Linked DNA regions of Homo sapiens: regions 2, 3, 4, 5, 6 and 7 are each linked to region 1. The links are contacts of gene promoters, found by promoter capture Hi-C in blood cells and fetal thymus (Javierre and others, 2016). All regions are on one chromosome and are shown on one strand. The core of a region is centred on a gene start or on the middle of the fragment in contact, and the rest is flanking DNA. Distances in the headings are between cores, read along the strand shown. Region 1 holds the start of H3C2 (H3 clustered histone 2). Region 2 has its middle 17 kb from the start of TRQ-CTG6-1. Region 3 has its middle 3.5 kb from the start of TRV-AAC1-5. Region 4 holds the start of TRD-GTC2-6 (tRNA-Asp (anticodon GTC) 2-6). Region 5 holds the start of C6orf62 (chromosome 6 open reading frame 62). Region 6 holds the start of LINC02828 (long intergenic non-protein coding RNA 2828). Region 7 holds the start of TRI-AAT5-2 (tRNA-Ile (anticodon AAT) 5-2).

Region 1 (2,800 bases), core at 125-2,624:
ATAAAAATTTTAAAGTAAATATTACTTTTGTTTGCGTACAGTATTCCCATCCCTCTAAATTTTCTTCCAGTACTCAATCCCCAACCTCCAAAACCGAAAAGCAAGATCAACAGAAAGAAAATGGTTAAAACTTGTAAATTCTAGATTTTAATAACTACAGGCAAGAAGTACTGAAAAAAAGAATGTGGCATGTCATGGTGCATAGTCCTAGAGGAGACAAAGCAATGCAACCAGATAGACTATTTACAAGCAAAGCCACACATATAAAAATTCATATATAAGGGATTAAATTATGCTTGGTCGACAGACTGACAGATTTAAAGTGGGTAGCTAGCTATGGATAAAATGAGAGCCAGTTAGATCCCTGCCTCACATTTTGCACCAGAATAAATTTCAGGTTAATGTTAACAGCCAAATGAATTTAACAGTATATATATATATATATATATATATAATATATGAGAAAACCTAGGGGACTATGTATTGAGCTGAGAAAATCTTCCTAAGCATTTTGAGGAAGACACTGGAACTCGCAAGACACAATTTTCTAATCTTTTCAAAGCTTTGCAAAAATGCCTAGTAAGCGCCAGTTAACTACTTACCAGATTTTTCCCTTACTCTTACAAAGTTGTTTAAACAAATGCTAATCATAGCAAGCTAGAGGCCTGAATGATAGTGGACTTACACAGCTTCTCTCCAAATAGCACCTTAATAAGGTCAGAAATAACCTACACTGCAAGACTGACCAAACCGTTATTTCTGTTAATCAACTTTAAGACCATAGTCTAATGCTTTCCGGGGGGGTCCTTAGAAATTTGTTCTGTTAAGACAACAAAAAATTATCACAGCTACTTTCGTTGGAATAAGTGGGTGGCTCTGAAAAGAGCCTTTGGGTTTTAAGACTGATGAAAAAGTGACTTTACATTTACGCTCTTTCTCCGCGAATGCGGCGAGCGAGCTGGATGTCTTTGGGCATAATAGTCACTCGCTTAGCATGGATGGCGCAAAGGTTTGTGTCCTCAAAGAGCCCTACCAAGTAGGCCTCACAAGCCTCCTGCAGCGCCATCACCGCAGAGCTCTGGAAGCGAAGATCGGTCTTGAAGTCTTGGGCGATTTCTCGCACCAGGCGCTGGAACGGCAGCTTCCGAATCAGCAACTCGGTCGACTTTTGGTAGCGGCGGATCTCGCGCAGAGCCACAGTGCCCGGGCGGTAACGGTGAGGCTTTTTCACGCCGCCGGTAGCCGGCGCGCTCTTGCGAGCAGCCTTGGTAGCCAGCTGCTTGCGTGGCGCTTTACCGCCGGTGGATTTCCGAGCTGTCTGTTTAGTACGAGCCATGGCAAAACCACAGAAAAGCTTGCCTGCAGAGACGTCTGTGGAGGAAAGGAAAGAGCTACTCTTCTTTTATAGAGTCAGACCACCAACTATTGGACCCAAGAAAATTCAAAAATCCCCGCGCCCTTCTTGGATTGGTCCATCTCTGTGCCTGGTTGCAGATTAAGAGAGGCTCCTGCCCATTACCGTAGCTACTCTGACGTCATTTTGTTAACCCCTTAGCTGCTATATCCACTGTGGACAAGTCTTGTACTGGAAAAGTTTCCTGAAGTCTTAAAATTTACAACCACACAAAGCAACGCGGAAACCTCCAATTGTTTCTAGTTAAAATATAAAAAAGAAATCAGAGAATATTGGAGACGATTAGGGAAATTTGCATATGCGCTTTATTTAAAATTGTATTTTTCTGGGTGTCGCATAAGAAGTGTGGGCAATTAGAAAAATGCTCTTAGCCGGGCGTGGCGGCTCTCGCCTGTAATCCCAGCTACTCAGAAGGCTGTCAAGAGGATCGCTTGAGCCCGAGTTCGAGGTTACAGTGAGCTGTTATCACGCCGCTGCACTGCAGCTTGGGCGAGAGGGAGACTCCACCCCAAAACAAAGCAAAACATCCCCAAACTGGAAAAAAGCTCATTTTGGGAAATACATACTCAAATGTTCAGTGGTAATGTGTGTGCTCTCAATTGTGTATGCCATTAATTGCTACAGCAAATGGTATGACATATTCAAACTTGTGTGGGGCATGCGGGTTTTAACACTTCCATTCAAGATAGTTAGGAATGCACTCATGGGTATAATTTCCTTCCTCTAAAATGTAGTAACTGCTGTGTGTGAAACTTAACGCGAATCACCCCTGTAAACATGTTTTGTGCTGCATGGCACTTCTCCCACATACCTAGAATTCCTGAGGTTTCTATGGATCTAATTTCTGCAGGACAAATTACTAAAAGTGCCACACTCAAAGCCATTAAAAACACCTCAAAAACATCTTTATGGGCGGCATAATCCAAAGCACAACAGCTCATTTAATGGAAGTCGTAGGTGGCTCTGAAAAGAGCCTTTGCTGTTAGGCTGATTTTGTCTGCTGACAGAAAAACAGCAGTGCATGAAGCGTTAACTCTTCACTTTCCCTTGGCCTTATGATGGCTCTCAGTTTTCTTAGGCAGCAGCACCGCCTGAATATTAGGCAAAACGCCACCCTGCGCGATGGTCACACGCCCCAAGAGTTTATTAAGCTCCTCGTCATTGCGGATGGCCAATTGCAGGTGGCGCGGGATGATGCGGGTCTTCTTGTTGTCGCGGGCCGCATTGCCCGCCAGCTCCAGGATCTCGGCGGTCAGGTACTCAAGCACCGCCGCGAGATACACCGGCGCGCCAGCCCCGACGCGCTCGGAGTAGTTGCCTTTGCGGAGCAGGCGGTGCACTCGGCCCACAGGAAACTGCAAACCTGCACGAGAAGACCGAGTCTTA
Region 2 (2,800 bases), core at 89-2,588, 1.7 Mb after region 1:
CCTTTTCAGCAAACAAGAATCAGCTGTCGAGTTACCAGCTCCTGTGGCTCCTTCCCCGCAGTCTCCACCAGGCGGCGCGCCCCAGGAAGCCGGACGCCTGCTACCGCGGGCCGCGTTTCTTTGTGCAAACTCAGCAAGGCCTGGCAGCCTTGGAGAGCAGGCCTTTAGCAAGCCGCGGAAACGCAACTGGGTGCCAGGGTTACTCGTTGCATTTGTGGTGGGCAGAGCTTCCTCCAAGCAGTCAGAGGAAAGCTCTCTGAAGGTGTGTAATTTCGTTTGGTAATTAGCATATAATTAGGTCTTGGGTAGGGCATGGGTCAAATCCAGCGCCACGTTGGACTCAGACGGTTTCAGACAGCTTAGCCCTCATCCTGTTTATTAGGGTCTTATCAGCCCAAGCTCTTCCTTGTCCTTGTAGCTAATTTTAACAGCTCCTTTAGGAGCTGTTAGGAGCTTAGGAAAGCTCTCCGACTGCTTGGAGGAAAGCTCTGCCCATGAGACTGCTCGGAGGAAAGCTCTGTCCACCACTACAGCGCTAAGGATATCGCCCAAGCTCTTTGCTAAATGTCTCTTGGGAAAAAGCTCCTCATGAAGCAGGTAAGACTGATTTGTAGTTTAATGACCTGCAGGTCCCCACATGAACACGAGGAAAGGGACGTGCAAGGCAGTGTTGAAGAAACATCAGCAGGTCTATTTGAGGTTCTCACCAGGTATCTTTCCTGATGGTGGGATGGGAACTTGGGGCCCTGTTGTAATTCCAGATCTGGGAAACTGCTGATTTCTCCTTCCCCCCAACTCTCCATTCCATCTCCTTACCACTCTCGTTATGATAATTGTCCCATGGTGCATTAATTCTTTTCCAGCCTTGTCGTTCAAACACTTATGTTTCCTGTAAGTACCATTAACAGCTTCTCTTGAACTGGTTTCTCTAAAAATTCCTCCTTTACCTTTCTTCTAAAGTGTCGGATCCTTTACCTTTCAAAAACGAGGAATAGGTCTCGTGGCTCATGCCTAGCGAGACCTCATCTCCACAAAAAATAATAATAAAAAAATTAGCCAGGTGTGGTGGTGTGGGCCTGTAGTCCTAGTTACTGGGGAGGCTGAGGTAGGAGGATCACTTAAGCCCAGGAGGTCAAGGTTATAGTGAGTTATGATCGTGCCACTGCACTGCAGCCTAGGTGACAGAGCAAGACCCTGTTCCCCACCCTCTGCAAAAACAAACAAACAAAAAAGCATCCTGATAAACATAGACATGAAATTGAAACATACAGGTGAAGGGTCACAGATTTATGCCTCAGTCTTCTCATCTGTAAGACAAAGACAGCCTCATCACTTTTAATGAGGTGAGCGAATGAGGGAGGAGACCACCCCTCATATTGTCTTATGCCCGATTTCTGCCTCCAAAGAAAGAAGAAGTAAAAACTAAAAAGCAGAAATGAAATCCACAGGCAGACAGCCCGGCGCCACGCCCTGGGCCTGGTAGTTAAAGATTAACCCCTGACCTAACACTGGTTATGTTATCTATAGTTTCCAGACATTGTATGGAAAAGCATTGTAAAAATCCCTGTCCTGTTCTGTTCCGTTCTGATTACTGGTGCATGCAGCCCCCAAACATGCACCCCCTGCTTGCTCAGTTGATCACGACCCTCTCATGTGGACCCCCTTAGAGTTGTGAGCCCTTAAAAGGGACAGGAATTGCTCACTCAGGGAGCTCGGTTCTTGAGACAGAAGTCTTGCCGATGCTCCAGGCCAAATAAACCCCTTCCTTCTTTAACTCGGTGTCTGAGGGGTTTTGTCTGCGGCTCTTCCTGCTGCACATTAAGTGAGGTACACCACTGCATATTACATGGCAGGTGCTCAGTCTCCTCCTTCCACTTCCTCACTGGTTTTCTAGTGAAGAGAGAATGAAGGGGTGGGTTGCCCCTCCACACCTGTGGGTGTTTCTCGTAAGGTGGAACGAGAGACTTGGAAAAGAAAAAGACACAGAGACAAAGTATAGAGAAAGAAATAAGGGGACCCGGGGGACCAGCGTTCAGCATATGGAGGATCCCACCAGCCTCTGAGTTCCCTTAGTATTTATTGATCATTCGTGGGTGTTTCTCCGAGAGGGGGATGTGTCAGGGTCACAAGACAATTGTGGGGAGAGGGTCAGCAGACAAACACGTGAACAAAGGTCTTTGCATCATAGACAAGGTAAAGGATTAAGTGCTGTGCTTTTAGATATGCATACACATAAACATCTCAATGCTTTACAAAGCAGTATTGCTGCCCGCATGTCCCACCTCCAGCCCTAACGCGGTTTTTCCCTATCTCAGTAGATGGAACGTACAATCGGGTTTTATACCGAGACATTCCATTGCCCAGGGACGGACAGGAGACAGATGCCTTGCTCTTGTCTCAACTGCAAGAGGCATGCCTTCCTCTTATACTAATCCTCCTCAGCACAGACCCTTTACAGGTGTCGGGCTGGGGGACGGTCAGGTCTTTCCCTTCCCAAGAGGCCATATTTCAGACTATCACATGGGGAGAAACCTTGGACAATACCTGGCTTTCCTAGGCAGAGGTCCCTGCGGCCTTCTGCAGTGTTTGTGTCCCTGGGTACTTGAGATTAGGGAGTGGTGATGACGCTTAACGAGCATGCTGCCTTCAAGCATCTGTTTAACAAAGCACATCTTGCACCGCCCTTAATCCATTTAACCCTGAGTTTGACACAGCACATGTTTCAGAGAGCACGGGGTTGGGAGTAAGTTCATAGATTAACAGAATCTCAAGGCAGAAGAATTTGTCTTAGTACAGAACA
Region 3 (2,800 bases), core at 89-2,588, 1.7 Mb after region 1:
GGAGACGAAGTAAATCAGGAAGATCACTTGAGCCCAGGAGTTTGAGGTTGCATGTGCAATGATTGTGTCTGTGAAAAGCCACTGCCCTCCAGCCTGGGCAATATAGGGAGACTCCATCTCTAATTTAAAAAAAATTGTTGTAAACACATTTATTTCATATTAATTAAAATAAATTATTGGCTGGGCACAGTGGCTCATGCCTGTAATTCTAGCACTTTGGGAGGCTTAGGCGGGATGATCACTTGAGCCATGAGTTCGAGACAGCCTGGGCAACATTGCGAGATCCCCATTTCAAATTTTTTTAAAAAGAAAAATAAATTATTGAGCTACAAACAATGTGCCAGACAATTGTGACCCTATGTTGTCACTAGGAGTACCAGAGGCATGCAGGACAAGATTACACAATCCTAACTCTCAAGGAGAAGAAAGAGGAACATGAGCAGCCAATATGCCATAAGCAAAAAGTGGAGCAACAGACGTACAGATTGCGAAGCATTTGGATGGTAGTATAGAGAGGAGGCATCTTCTTAGTCCTTATGAACTGGCAGGGCAGATCTGGCAGGGATCTTTGGAGCCAAAATATCTGAGTACAATTCCTTCCTCTGCCACTTTCTCATCATATGTAGGGTTTCAGGCAAGCTATTTGGCTTCTTCATGACTCTGTCTGTGCTGGTAAAATGGATATGGATACAGTGTGTACCTCATAGAATTATCATAAACTCAATTAAGAAAAACTCCCTGAAGTGTTTCAGACAGTGCTCAACTTACAGAAGTAGTTACTGCTTTTATTTTTAGTATTACTTTTAGCCTTGTCAAGCCTCCTGAGTCAAGATCTATCCCTGTCATTTCGGGTTTACATTTGAGCAAGTTAAGGCTTGAACAATGTGCTGAGGTTATGCTAGCTAGGAAAGGACACCACCAGGTGTGTTTGTCTCCAGAACTGGTGTTCTTGACCACCATGCTATACTAGGTAGTTTTATAAACCCCTGTTTATGACAAAAAAAGATTATAGAGAATATTATGGACCTCCTTATTTCCATGATCCTACTTCAACAATTAGTCTCTCCTCCCTCTGCCAAGCCCCCATGATAATTTAAAGCAAATTTAGACATTTTCATCTAGCAACAGCTTTTTGTGGCATTTTCATAGCATATGCTTCCATTTAACTTTGTAGTTAATGAGGAAATTTGTTGAGCTGTTCTCCCCTGGGCGGGAGAGATGCCATGCAGGGAGTCCTAAGCTTCCCATTGTCCCTCAGATCAGTAAAGAAGACCAGCCCTAAGCTGCTGACCACAGGTTCATGGGACTCTTCTGAGGGAATGTGAGGCCCAGAACTTACGCTAGTGATTCTCCAGGTGGACTATTCCTAAGATTCCTTGCCATACCCCCTTCTAGTGCAGAGGGTCTCTGGTATGGCCCACAAGTCTTAATTTTTAGAAGCTTCCAGGTGATTCAGAAGCTGAGGACCTTTGGGAAGATTTTGACAATCCTTTCATTAATGACAAATTTGTTTCATCTTAAAAAACAAAACTTCATCCTTGTATGTGTGGAGGAGGACACTATAGTGAAATTAAAGAAAAAAAAAGTCAAATTATCTGCTCCCTCCATCTACCTGAGGTTTTCTTGCTTGGCATTTGCAAAGAAATTGGGCGCATGGGTGAATACTTTGATTGCTATAAAGAGTAGAGTTTGGCCGTTGATTTTAGTACACTAAAAGTGCAAGGGCAAGAAACATACCAGCACCTTGACAGTTTCTGGGAAGAAACTTAACGGCACCTTCTGGACCCAATCTGCGTGGCGCAGTGGCCTAAAGAGGCGACCGAACCTGCATCCCTAGCTCCGCCTTCCCGGTCCCTGCACACCCCGGCAGCTTCCGCGCGATTCTTCCCGCCCCCGACACCCGCCGCCACACAAAGGCGCTGCGTCCTGGCGGCCAGCGGGGGCTTAGTCTAGGCCCGGCAGGGTTTTCTGGAAGACCAGAGGGCCACCAGGTCACCGAGGTGGGAAGTGAAGAGAGGTTCGACGCTGCCTCAGGCCTGGGCCTGGCCGGTGGGAGACACAGCAAGGACTCTGGGAGCCTGCAGAGCAGAGGCCGCCGCGGGGCCGGGCCCCCGTCTCCTCCTCAGGTCCAAGACCAGAGGGTCTGCAGGGCCCCAGAGCAGCTGGCCGCGCTCCGCTTCCCACCGCGCTCTCTGCTGGAACTCATGTGGTTGTTTATCCTTATTTTGCTAAATTTCTTTATTTGCTGTAACAGTTTGTGTGTGTGTGTGTTTGAGTGTGTGTGTGTAATTTTCAGGGTTTTCTATATATAAAAATCATGTCACGGCCAGGCTTGGTGGCTCACACCTGTAATCCCAGCACTTTGGGAGGCCAAGGTAGGAGGATCGCCTGAGCCCAGGAGTTCGAGACCAGCCTGGGCAACACGGGCAACATAGCGAGACCCTAGTCTCTAAAATTTTTTTTATTAGCCGGGCATGGTGGCAGGCGCCTGTGGTCCCAGTTACTCCGGAGGATGAGGCAGGGTAATCGCTTGAACCAGGGAAGTCGAGGCTTCAGTGAGGCATAATTGCTCTGCTGCATCCCAGCCTGGGTGACAAAGAGAGATCCCATCTCTCTCTCAAAAAAAAGTCATGTTATCTGTGAACATAGATAATTTTACTTTTTCCTTGCCAATACTGTGCTGAATAACATGGTGAAAGTGGGCACCCATTATTCCTGATTGTAGGAGAAAAATTTTCAGTCTTTCGCTGTTGAGAATGATATTAGTTGTATGTTTTTCATAATTGGGCATTATCAAGTT
Region 4 (2,800 bases), core at 172-2,671, 1.4 Mb after region 1:
AGACACGTTCGCTGAATTGCCTTGCGTATATTTGGTAGGGGAAACGTGTGACTACAGAGCAAAGAAAGATGGACAATAGCGAGTAACTTCACAGGGATTTCCTAAGAGCTCCATTTTCACGTCAATTCCTCGTTAGTATAGTGGTGAGTATCCCCGCCTGTCACGCGGGAGACCGGGGTTCGATTCCCCGACGGGGAGGAGGCTTAAACTTTTTTTTAGAAAAGCACACTTCCGGTAAACACAGTCTCTAGTCTTCTGGGCAAATGTTGGGTTCTCTTTTTCTTTAGCAGAGTTCTTTCAAACCAACGAAATACTGATCGCAAAAACCATAAGCTGTAGAAATCATGAGGTTCTGTAATAGCAAGAAAATTTCCACTCTGCACTGTAATCTCCATCACAGTGGAGAAACCGGGTAGATACCATCTTACCCAAGTGATTGAATCAGTATTGGGACGAATCTACATTATATACCTTTTTTACAGGATGTGCTCATGAGAGCACAACGTCACTTTTGTGGTATTCTTGGCAAAAATATGTAATCTAAATCAGAAAACATCAGACAAACCCATATTGAGGGAGATTTTAACAAAATAACTGACTTGTACGCCTCAAAAACTGCAATTACTTTTGCATCAACCTAGTAACAGGCAAGCAGGGAGGAAAAATAAATAAATAAATAAATAAATAAATAAACAAATAAATAAAATAACAAAGTTACAGAACACAAAGAAAGGCTGACTAAATAGTCCACATTATAGAAGATCTTAAAGATATGACAGCAACATATGGTCTGGAATTTTTATCTTAAAGGACATTATTGAAATAGTTGGTGAAATCTCAATAAAGTCTATAGATTTTATAATATTATGAATGTGAATTCCTGATTGTATTAATTGTTCTATGGTTATAGAACAAAATGTCTTTAAGAAAATTCACACCTATTTACAAAATACGTATTTAAGGGTAAGGGGAGGTATGTGTCTTCAAACTCACTGTCAAATAGTTCAGAAATATACATTTATGTATATATATGAGAGAGAGAAGGAAAAGAAAATATAGGAATATCCTTAATGTGCTAATATTGAGGGAATTGGGGTGAAGGGTGCTCAGGAATTATCTGTATTATTCATGTACTGTGTCTGTCAGTCTAAAATAATTTCAGAATGGAAAGTTAAAAGGAGAAAAGCCTAATAAAACTATAAATGAAAATATACGAATTAAAATGTAAAAGGGCAAATATACAATTTTGAACAATGCATATGACAAGAGTGACGACTACATTAATGAATAGGAATTTAGAACTGATGAAGGAGTGGGATTCAAAATGTTATAAGTGAGCAAGAAAATTCATAACATGTGACAAAAGCTACATAAAGAGTGAATGCCTGAAACAACATTGTTTCGTAATGATTACATGTTGGAATATGAAAACAAATGGTACTAAATTTCAAAACAGCAACGACAATATAAAATGGAAAGGTATGGCGAAATCCAAATCATTCTAAGCTCCTTTATAATAAGGTAGGAATTAGAAGTGTACCTAGTATATACCCTCGACCAACGCTGAATGGATGAATATTAAAAGCAATATTTTTGTGAGCCATAATCAAAGCCAACAGCATTGCTTCTTTAATGAAAGAATACTCTTCCAGCATATAACAATATGTCTGATTTTGTTTTAAAAATACTTATTGGCCAGGCGAGGTGGCTCATGCCTCTAATCCAAGCACTTTGGGAGGCTGAGGCGGGTGGATCACCTGAGGTCTGGAGTTCGATACCAGCCTGGCCAACCTGCTGAAACCCCATCTCTACTAAAAATACAAAAATTAGCTGGGTGTGGTGGCGGGCACCTGTAATCCCAGCTACTCGGAGGCTGAGGCAGGAGAATCACTTGAACCCGGGAGGCGGAGGTTGCAGTGAACCAAGATTGCAGCATTGCACTCCAGCCTGGGCGACAGAGCAAGACTCTGTCTCCAAAAAAAAAAAAAAGAAAAATAATTATTATTAACATTTTTGTCATGAAATTTTGGCCATCAAATTTAAAAGTTAATATTATTGTGCAACACTTTCAGCCAATGGATTCTTTTTTTCGTTAACACTATTGAACAGTAGAGTGATTGATGCCTCATCCTTTTCACCTAACATTGAATCTCGTTTGTCTCTATTACTTCCTTTTAATCTATTATTTCTTTTTTAATCTAGAAGAAAAATGATTCATCGTGGATAAGAACTATAAAGCAATTGTTTTGTTTGTTTGTTTGTTTCTGGCTTTTTTTTTTTTTTGAGACAGAGTCTCGCTCTATCGCCCAAGCTGCTGTGCAATGGCGCAATCTTGGCTCACCACAACCTCTGCCTCCTGAGTTCGAGCCATTCTCCTGGCTCAGCCTCCCGAGTAGCTGGGATTGCAGGCGTGTATTTTGAGTAGAGACAGGGTTTCACCACGTTGGCCAGGCTGGTCTTGAACTCCTGACCTCGTGATCTACCTGCCTCAGCCTCCCAAAATGCTGGGATTACAGGTGTGAGCCACCAAGCCCGACTTAAAGCAACTGTTTGAAGGCACTGATAAGCTGTCAACCCAGGCAAGGCTTGACAAACTACAATCCTTGAGAGAAGGGAAGCACATTATATGAGTTTGCACATTTGAAAGTGCTTTCCTCCTGAAGGTGTGTCCCGTATTGCACCATTGTGGAATAGACCTCATGTGGAAAGAGGCAGTTGTGCTGGACTAAGGAGATACTGGTCAGAGTTTGGGGCTACCAACGTGCATAGAACTTGATGGTCAAAATTCAAGTGATGAGGG
Region 5 (2,800 bases), core at 204-2,703, 1.3 Mb before region 1:
TAAGATTGTATTTCTGATCTGAAATTAGCTAACAATTTAAGCACCAAAATCCAAGTAGCACTTCCTTACATTCATAACCTCATCTTTGGTCAAATAAGCCTTGCTGATAATTTAAGAAAATGTTCATTTTAAGTTGCAAAAAATACTGCTCTTATCATCCCATCCTTGACTACTCACAACTTACTGTTTGCTATTTAACTGCGGAACTAATTCTGATTAAGACCTCCACCGCCCCTAAAAATGAAACTTCCTCTAGGTCATTTTGAGTTTTTAAAAACTGTACTTCTATACAAGGCAAAATGAACTCTAAGTAAAAAAGAAAATCACACTTCTAAACACAAATTAACCATTTCAGTATTTAATTGCTCCTAAAAGGTGTATTCTACTTCATTAAATGTAAGAGAAAAGGTTACCTACATTACGCAGTTTAAGAAACAGGATAAACTTTAGCATATAAACAGTCTGATTACAATTTCACACTTTCAACCATCTTATTTATACTCTACATTAGATAATCTTTAAATTCCATCATAAGGTTTCCCATGTTAACTCCATATAAAATTTTGTAATCTTGCCCACCCCATGTCAACTCAGTGTATACTACTACTAAGCTTCAGACTCAAATTTATTTCCAAACCAAAGAACGCTCAAGGGTCTTTTCGCATGCTGCAACTGCTCAATTCACAGAATCACCCCTAAGGGTGAAAAAACAGAGCATACAAAGCAGACTTTTTTTCAACCACTCTTTAACCTAATATTCATAATAATTTAAGAGTAACAAATAATATACACTTACAAAAATTACTTGTGCTAATTCACCATTAAGAACTTTAAATTACCTTCTCCTTGAATACAAAGGCAATATACATCTTGAAGTCAAACTGGTCAGCTAGAGATTCTTTTTTCTTTCTAAGCTGAGCACGTAGTCTGTTCAGAGCTTGTTTCTTCCGGGAGTTTGGGTCCCCCATTTTGAAATACAGGTGGTACTAAAGCCTTTGGAAATTGTCACTAAACTATGGGCACTTTTTCTTAAGACTCAAGTACAACAGAAACAAGTCATTTTTTTTCCTGCTAATATGATTGATTAGCGAAAATCACGACTATAACCCAAAAACTGCACCTTCTGTCAATATTAGCAGACTGTCATATTACAGGGTCAAGAAACAAAAGCTGCTGTCCAGTCATGTTTGGACAATAACGTTTGGGGTCAGACGGGAAAAAGGGAGGAAAGAAAGGAAAGAAAGAGGAGAAAATAACTAACTTTCTGGAAAACACATTTGGCTTAACTGCCAAAATAAAGGCTTTGCGGAGAAATGAAAAGCCTATAATCAGGATTTAGGTGTGCAATAAAACACAGCTGACACCAGACCAATCCCTAAAATCCATCCGGATTTTCCCCCCTTTTTAGAAAAGGGATTAAGGAACAGGGAGGGGGAAGTGTGATCCTTGCTTTCCAAAAAAAAAAAAAAAAAAAACTCACCAAAACCAAAACCAAAACCAAACACCAAAACAGGGTAGGTGAATGAAACTGAAATATCCAATTAGATTTTACCCAGCCAGCTCCATGGCTGTAGTACCTAATTCTTAGTTATTTCAGATTTCACTATTGCTATGTATTGTCAGTGCTTGTTATTGATTACACTTGGTGGTGAGCATAGAGAAAAGTGCAAAATCGGTAGAGAAGGAAAGGGAGAGGTACAGGGTTTCCCTGCAATCAACTACAGTGTATACCGGGGGCGGGCAGCTGTGGCCCAAAGGAGCCATGAGAAAAAACAGCGGAGTCATTACCAACTTCCCCATCACCCACATTTTCACCCTCAGGCGGCTGCTAACGCTGCTGCCAAGGAGAATCATGACGGCAGAAGGAAAAGGGGTATATAATACGGTATTAATTATTCCGGCTCTGTGGTTAGACCTGATTAATGCCCGGGTTCCCAACACCCCCAGCCTGCAACTAGTCCTACATTCCCCAAGGGAGACTTCCCTGTGGATCTGCCCCCGTTCAAAATGGTGGGGAGTGCGATTTATCTTCTTGTGAGCATTGCCGAGGCAAAGGTGGCGGGTTCTTCTCCCAAATCCCAGGCGGTGCCCGGAGACCACCTGCCTTCCACCCCCGCAGGTCCCACCCCCACCCCTTGCCTTCAGCGGCAGCGACTCACTCGCACCACGGGAGACACAGGATCACTCAGGTTTTCACTCATTTCATCGTGGAAACAATTCCCGCCCGGGTGGAGTGGGCGGGAGAGGGTAAATGGGAAGGTTCAGTGGGGGAAAAAAAGAAAATAATTGTGTTAATATTACTTCTAAAGTAAGCCCACCCACCCTCCCCCCAAAAAATTAAGTTCCCGGATTAGCTCTCTCTCACGTTGAACAGACCATGTTTCCAGAGTTTGGATTGTTTAGGGTGGGGTCGTTAGTTGTTTCCCGAGGGGCAGGGGGTGGAATTGAGGCAGCTAGGGCGGGGTGGGTGACGGGGAAATCCCCTCCCTGTCCCCGCGGAGCCCGGGACTCACGGACCGACTCTAGGGCGGGGTTTGGGCCCTCTAGCCGCAGCCTGCGGGCGGAGCGGTGGCGGCGGCGGAAGAGGCGGCGGCGGCGGGGGCGCTGCTGGTAGCACGGGCAGGAGCCATGTCAAGAGAAAACCACCAGCCAACTGAGCCCCTCCATCCCCGCTGCAGTGCGCACCGTGACTGGACCGCCCGCGCTGCTGCCGCCGCTCAGCCCCCACCTGGGACCCATAGTCTGGCTCGGCGCCCTGGGCGGCAACGGAGGGGAAGGACGCGGAGACAGCGGCAACAGG
Region 6 (2,800 bases), core at 103-2,602, 1.3 Mb before region 1:
ATGGGGGTGGGTTTTTTCCATGTTGTTCTCATGATAGTGAATAAATCTCACAAGATCTGATGGTTTTATAAAGGGCAGTTCCCCTGCATACCTGCCCTTGCCTGCCACCATTTAAGATGTACCTTTGCTCCTCCTTCACCTTCTGCCATGATTGTGAGGCCTCCCCAGCCATATGGAACTGTGTGTCCATTAAACCTCTTTTTCTTTATAAATTACCCAATTGTGAATATTTCATCATAACAGTATGAGAACAGGCTAATACACTGCCATTTGTGGGAAAATGAGTAGACGTACCCATGGGTACAAACTAGCTATAAGATCAGGATATACAATAAACTAATAACGTTGGTTGCCTGTGGGAGGGAGATTTTTCACAGTGTAGACTTTGGTACCTTTTGAATTTTCAACTATATGAAGGCTGCATCTGGGAAATGGGTCTGGGTAGGGAAGAGGACTGTTGCTTTTTTATTGAGTGAAAGTAGCCAGACACAAAAATTTAGTGTTATATTTTCTACAATGTACATGATAAACATACTAAAAGAAAAGACAAGATGGGTCAGATTACAGAGGGCCTTATAAAAGACCAGGCATGGAAATTTAGAGTTGATTAAGGCCTGAAAATGGCACTGGCAATGGTGATAAAAGGATGAATTTAAACACTTAATAGAAAAAATCTAGAAAGTAAAATATCTGGATAGAAAATGATAGAGGTAAGTGAAGAGGACACCCAAGTTTTGGTGCGAGTAACTGTTACGGACTGAATTGTGCCTCCCCAAAATTCATATATTGAAATCCTAATCCCTAGTATGCTTCAGAATGTGCCTGTATTTAGAGATAAGACCTTTAAAGAGATGATTAAGGTTAAAAAATTATTAGAGAGGTGAAAAAGTTATTAGAGTGGTCTCCAATCCAATATGATTAATGTCCTTATAAGAAAAGGGAGAGAAACCAGAAATACATGCACAAAAGAAAGGCCATTGCTGGGTACAGTGGTGCATGCCTGTAATCCCAACAACTTGAGAAGCTAAAGCAGGAGCATTGCTTGAGCTCGGGAGTCTGAGGCAGCAGAATGAGACCCTGCCTCTGGTGCAAAAAATAAAATAAAATAAAAGCCATGTGAGGACCCACCAAGAAGATGGCCATCTGCAAGCCAAGGAGAGAGAGTTCAGGAGAAACCAAACCTGCCAGAATCTTGATCTTGGACTTCTGACCCAGAGAACTGTGAGAAAATAAATTTCTGTTGTTTTAGCTATCCAGTCTGTGGTGTTTTGTTATGGCAGCCTGAGCAGACTAAGACAGTGACTAAGAAAGTGACCATGCCATGACCACAGGCAGGAAAGTGGGAAAGGGAGCTAGTTTGAGAAGGGAGGTGATTTTGAATTGCAGCACCAGCCAGGCATAGTGGTTCATGCCTATAACCCCAGCACTTTGGAAAGCCAAGCCTAGAGCCCAGCCATGGGAGGTTTGCCTGAACCCAGGAGTTCAAGACCAGCCTGGGCAATATAGTGAGATGCCATCTCTACAAAAAACTCATAAATTATCTGGGCATGGTGGCTTGCATCTGTAGTCCCAGCTACTTGGGAAGCTGAGGCAGAAGGATTGCTTGAGCCCAGGAGCTTCAGGCTACAGTTATCTATCACAGCAGCACTGCACTCCAGTCTGGGTGACAGACTGAGACCTCATCTCAAAAATAAATATGTAAATAAGGCCAGGCATGGTGGCTCATGGCTGTAATCCCAGCACTTTGGCAGGCCAAGGCAGGCAGATTACTTTAGGTCAGGAGTTCAAGACTAGCTTGGCCAACATGGCAAAACCCCATCTCTACTAAAAATACAAAAAAATTAGCTTGGTGTGGTGGTGCACGCCTGTAATCCCAGCTACTCAGGAGACTGAGGTGGGAGGATCATTTGAGCCTGGGAGGCAGAGGTTGCAGTGAGCTGATATCTGACCACTGCCCTCCAGCCTGGGCTACAGTGTGAGACTCTGTCTCAAAAAATAAAAAATTAAAATAAATAAATAAATACATATATACATAAAATAAAATTTAAAATTGCAGCCCCAGTGAAATATGGCGGCTCACGCCTGTAATCCCAGCACTTTGGAAGGCCAAGGAGGGCAGATTACCTGCAGTCAGGAGTTCGAGACCACCTGGCCAACATGGTAAAACCCCATCTCTACTAAAAATACAAAAATTAGCCAGGCATGGTGGCACATGCCTGTAATTCCAGCTACTCGGGAGGCTGAGGAAGGAGAATTGCTTGAACCTGGGAGGCAGAGGTTGCAGTGAGCTGAGACAGAGCCACTGCACTCCAGCCTGGGAAACAGAGCAAGACTCCATCTCAAAAAAAAAAAAAAAAAAGAAAAGAAAGAAAGAAAGAAAGAAAAGAAAAAGAAAACAGAACAGGCCTTTTTAACCGCAGAGGTAATGGCTACAGGGAAGATAATGTGACTTTGGAGTGAAAGGATAGAGAGAATAGGGAGCAAGGGAATACGTAGCAAAGGAATGGCAAGAGAAATAAAAGGCAATAAAAAGGGAAGGAACTGCTAGCAAATAGGACAGAAGCCAAGGAAGCCGAACATTTGAGGTATGAGAAATCTTTTTTTTTTCTTTTTAATGCTGTAGAGAGAAACAGAGAAAGAAAAACCAGAAAAGAATAATGGATTTAACTAAAAAGAGGTCTTTGTTGACCTTTTAGAAAACAGTTTCAGTGTTGCTGGGAGGATGGAAACCGCATTGCCAAGTATGCAGTAGATGAGATTGTGGATAGAGAACAAATGCAACCCCAAGGCATTTACCATC
Region 7 (2,800 bases), core at 114-2,613, 1.1 Mb after region 1:
CAGGCACACGGGGACCCAGTGACCAGACTCCAAGAAAGCGCAGGACAGGGCTGGGCGCGGTGGCTCACGCCTGTAATCCCAGCACTTTGGGAGGCCGAGGCGGGCGGATCACGAGGTCAGGAGATCGAGACCATCCCGGCTAAAACGGTGAAACCCCGTCTCTACTAAAAATACAAAAAATTAGCCGGGCGTAGTGGCGGGCGCCTGTAGTCCCAGCTACTTGGGAGGCTGAGGCAGGAGAATGGCGTGAACCCGGGAGGCGGAGCTTGCAGTGAGCCGAGATTGCGCCACTGCACTCCAGCCTGGGCGACAGAGCGAGACTCCGTCTCAAAAAAAAAAAAAAAAAAGAAAAAGAAAAAAAGAAAAAAAAAAAGAAAGCGCAGGACAGAAAGAGCGAGGTGCTAAGACTTAGAGTGGACCCAGAGGCTCTGGCCCTCCTGTCTCCCACCACGCACTCCATTTTTGTCACATTTCAAACCTATCGCTTTTACGATATATGTTCAAAAATTGTTTAATGAACTGTAAATGGCTTGGTAAGGGCCGCATCGTAAATGGCTTGGTATGGGCCACATCGAGAACAGCTGTCAAATATAAGCCTAAGGCTAACCACGGATCTATTTTAACACTGAGCAGTTGTGGCTGAGTGTCTGGAGCTTGGCAGAAAGCAACGTCACAAGTCTGGCTTTTTCCCACGTAGACTGAACCCTCGCCCTCAAAGCTACAAACACAACAATTTAACCAACTGAGTGATCAACTAGGAGAAGAATCAATATGATCTCTTTCAAAAGCTTAAAATATGTCAAAATAGTATTATCTCAGAAAGTTTTTTTTTCCCAAAATAATACAAGACATTATCGAATTCTTATTTAACCCTTTTCTAAAATCACCCACCCACCTCATTGAATTTCCTTTAAAAAATCTTCATCCTGGCCGGGCGCGATGGCTCATGCCTGTAATCTCAGCACTTTGGGAGGCCAAGGCAGGCGGATCACCTGAGGTCAGGAGTTCAAGACTAGCCTGGCCAACATGGTGAAACTCCGTCTCTACTGAAAATACAAAAATTACCCAGGCATCGTGGCACACGCCTGTAATCCCAGCTACTTGGGAGGCTGAGGCAGAAGAATTGCTTAAACCTGGGAGGCGGAGGTTGCAGCGAGCCAAGATCGCGCCGCTGCACTCCAGCCTGGGCGTCAGAGCAAGACTCTGTCTCAAAAACAAACAAAACAAACAAATAAGAAAAACCTTTTCATCCTAACTCGTATATTATTTCTTCAAAAGAATAAAAAACGTGCAAATCTAATGCTTGTCTAGCTATTGCGACCACATTTACAAATGGATAGGCAGCGCTCCGGAGTTGGATGTAAGACGGTAGTATACAATCCAGGTGTGGTCGATTTAAGAAAAAAAAAAAAGAAAAAAGAAAAAAATTCCTGTCTAGCTAGTGCAACTACATTTATAAATGGATAGGCGAGGCTACGGAGTTCGATGTAAAACCGAAGTTTACAAGCGAGGTGTGGTCGGTGTAAAATAAAAACGAAAAAGAAGAAAAAAAAAAAAAACAAACCCACGGAAGTGGCCCGTACGGGGATCGAACCCGCGACCTTGGCGTTATTAGCACCACGCTCTAACCAACTGAGCTAACCGGCCTCCTTGGTGGGAGGGTCTTTTCTTATGTTTATTTAAATCATACCTGATCCATGCCCGCTGAATTTTTTTTTTTTTGTAATAGAAGCGTTACTTTCCCTTTTATTAATAAAATATATTTTTTTTTAAGAAAAGGAGAATTCCTCACTGTAGGCACAGGAAAACCATGCTGTTTCAGGGAAAACAATCTCAAACCACTGATTCTGACTGGAGAAAACTCAGATTCAACGACCCCAAGCAGGGCTTCCTTCCCCTCACCAGGTGAAGGACTCAGAACAAACCAAAAAGCAGCTCCAAGCTTGCGATCGCGGCCAGTTCCTCACGGAACCAACCGCAGAGCCGCCGCAGGTTCGCAGGATCGGAGGGTTCGGAGGACTCGGAGGGTGCGGATTCCTCTCTGCTCCTTGAGACCATTCCAGCCAGGTGGGCTCTTAGGCCTGGGAACCTGGGAAAGTGCACTGTCTCGCCTCCTGGCCTCGCGGTGGTTCCGCAGTCACCAGGACCCGAAATTCACAGCTGTGCGTCCTAAGCTTGCAGCTCCACAAACGATAAAATCAGACTTGGCCCTGCAGTGCCGGGCACCGGGCCCTTGGTGATGCTCGAGTGCCGGGCTGGCATCGGCGTAAATGAAAGGACCAGCGGGACGGCTCCTTTCAAGAGTCTCTGACTCCTTCCGTCCCGGGAAGACCAAGACACCCACATCTAAGACAAGGGAAGTCACCATTATCTACACCAATGATAAACGCCGGTATCTGGGAGGAACTGAGCCCAGGACCGGGTCAGGCAACTCAGAGTGTTGGGACAACTAAGTCCCTCTTCAAAGACTCAACTTTCTTGTCATAAGTTGCAAAAGTTGTACGTCAATCCTGCCTGCCCCCCGCCCCCCACCACACACATACACTCCTTTTTTTCGCAAATCCAGGGTTTACCCTATTTGCCAAAGTTTAAGTCTTAGCCAATCGGGATCAGCTTAGATTGTGCGGTCCAACCCCAGCCAATAGGGGAAGGACACAGAAACAGGAACTGCGTTAGGATTAAAAACTCCTTACCTCCTTTGTTTGGTGTGCTCTTGCAATTGTAACAGGCAAGGAGCACCCTTCTGCAGAAGTAAAGATGCCTTGCTGAGGAATTTTCTAAGTGAGGGTTTCTTTTGGCT

The links. The method cuts DNA at HindIII sites, captures the fragments that hold promoters and counts their contacts. A CHiCAGO score of 5 or more calls a contact.
Region 2: a fragment that was not itself captured here is called in contact with the fragment with the promoter of H3C2 in region 1 in 3 of 17 cell types (M0 macrophages, M2 macrophages and monocytes); the score reaches 7.4 in M0 macrophages.
Region 3: a contact is called between a fragment that was not itself captured here and the fragment with the promoter of H3C2 in region 1, in 1 of 17 cell types (fetal thymus). The highest score is 5.3, in fetal thymus.
Region 4: a fragment that was not itself captured here is called in contact with the fragment with the promoter of H3C2 in region 1 in 5 of 17 cell types (naive CD8 T cells, monocytes, total B cells and 2 more); the score reaches 7.1 in naive CD8 T cells.
Region 5: the fragment with the promoter of C6orf62 here is called in contact with the fragment with the promoter of H3C2 in region 1 in 1 of 17 cell types (M1 macrophages); the score reaches 6.2 in M1 macrophages.
Region 6: a contact is called between a fragment that was not itself captured here and the fragment with the promoter of H3C2 in region 1, in 1 of 17 cell types (M0 macrophages). The highest score is 6.2, in M0 macrophages.
Region 7: a fragment that was not itself captured here is called in contact with the fragment with the promoter of H3C2 in region 1 in 2 of 17 cell types (total CD8 T cells and total CD4 T cells); the score reaches 5.9 in total CD8 T cells.

Annotation. Positions count from the first base shown.
Region 1 is chr6:26,030,725-26,033,524 of GRCh38, forward strand. It overlaps H3C2 (H3 clustered histone 2), which reads right to left and starts at 1,375. Exons shown (of 1, transcript NM_003537.4): 1 at 865-1,375. The coding sequence starts at 1,336. The coding sequence ends at 926. It overlaps H2AC4 (H2A clustered histone 4), which reads right to left. Exons shown (of 1, transcript NM_003513.3): 1 at 2,368-2,800. The coding sequence ends at 2,452. RefSeq lists enhancers at 1,012-1,241, 1,282-1,401, 2,339-2,800 and a silencer at 2,752-2,800. The HindIII fragment of the contact is 2,287 bases long and covers 1,353-2,800 here.
Region 2 is chr6:27,772,555-27,775,354 of GRCh38, forward strand. No RefSeq gene overlaps it. Among named protein-coding and RNA genes, the nearest start is that of TRQ-CTG6-1, 17 kb to the right of the region's middle. The HindIII fragment of the contact is 4,434 bases long and covers 1-2,800 here.
Region 3 is chr6:27,755,533-27,758,332 of GRCh38, forward strand. No RefSeq gene overlaps it. Among named protein-coding and RNA genes, the nearest start is that of TRV-AAC1-5, 3.5 kb to the left of the region's middle. The HindIII fragment of the contact is 200 bases long and covers 1,239-1,438 here.
Region 4 is chr6:27,479,548-27,482,347 of GRCh38, forward strand. TRD-GTC2-6 (tRNA-Asp (anticodon GTC) 2-6) reads left to right here and starts at 127; the gene lies at 127-198. RefSeq lists a silencer at 180-239. The HindIII fragment of the contact is 3,440 bases long and covers 1-2,800 here.
Region 5 is chr6:24,717,701-24,720,500 of GRCh38, forward strand. C6orf62 (chromosome 6 open reading frame 62) reads right to left here and starts at 1,454. Exons shown (of 5, transcript NM_030939.5): 1 at 840-1,454. The coding sequence starts at 968. RefSeq lists an enhancer at 2,135-2,800 and a silencer at 2,498-2,667. The HindIII fragment of the contact is 3,349 bases long and covers 610-2,800 here.
Region 6 is chr6:24,739,762-24,742,561 of GRCh38, forward strand. LINC02828 (long intergenic non-protein coding RNA 2828) reads left to right here and starts at 2,544. Exons shown (of 3, transcript NR_183315.1): 1 at 2,544-2,585. The HindIII fragment of the contact is 3,603 bases long and covers 1-2,800 here.
Region 7 is chr6:27,175,642-27,178,441 of GRCh38, forward strand. It overlaps TRI-AAT5-2 (tRNA-Ile (anticodon AAT) 5-2), which reads right to left and starts at 1,647; the gene lies at 1,574-1,647. RefSeq lists a cis regulatory region at 1,486-2,563, a silencer at 1,553-1,702 and enhancers at 1,905-2,104, 2,295-2,394, 2,745-2,800. The HindIII fragment of the contact is 1,154 bases long and covers 787-1,940 here.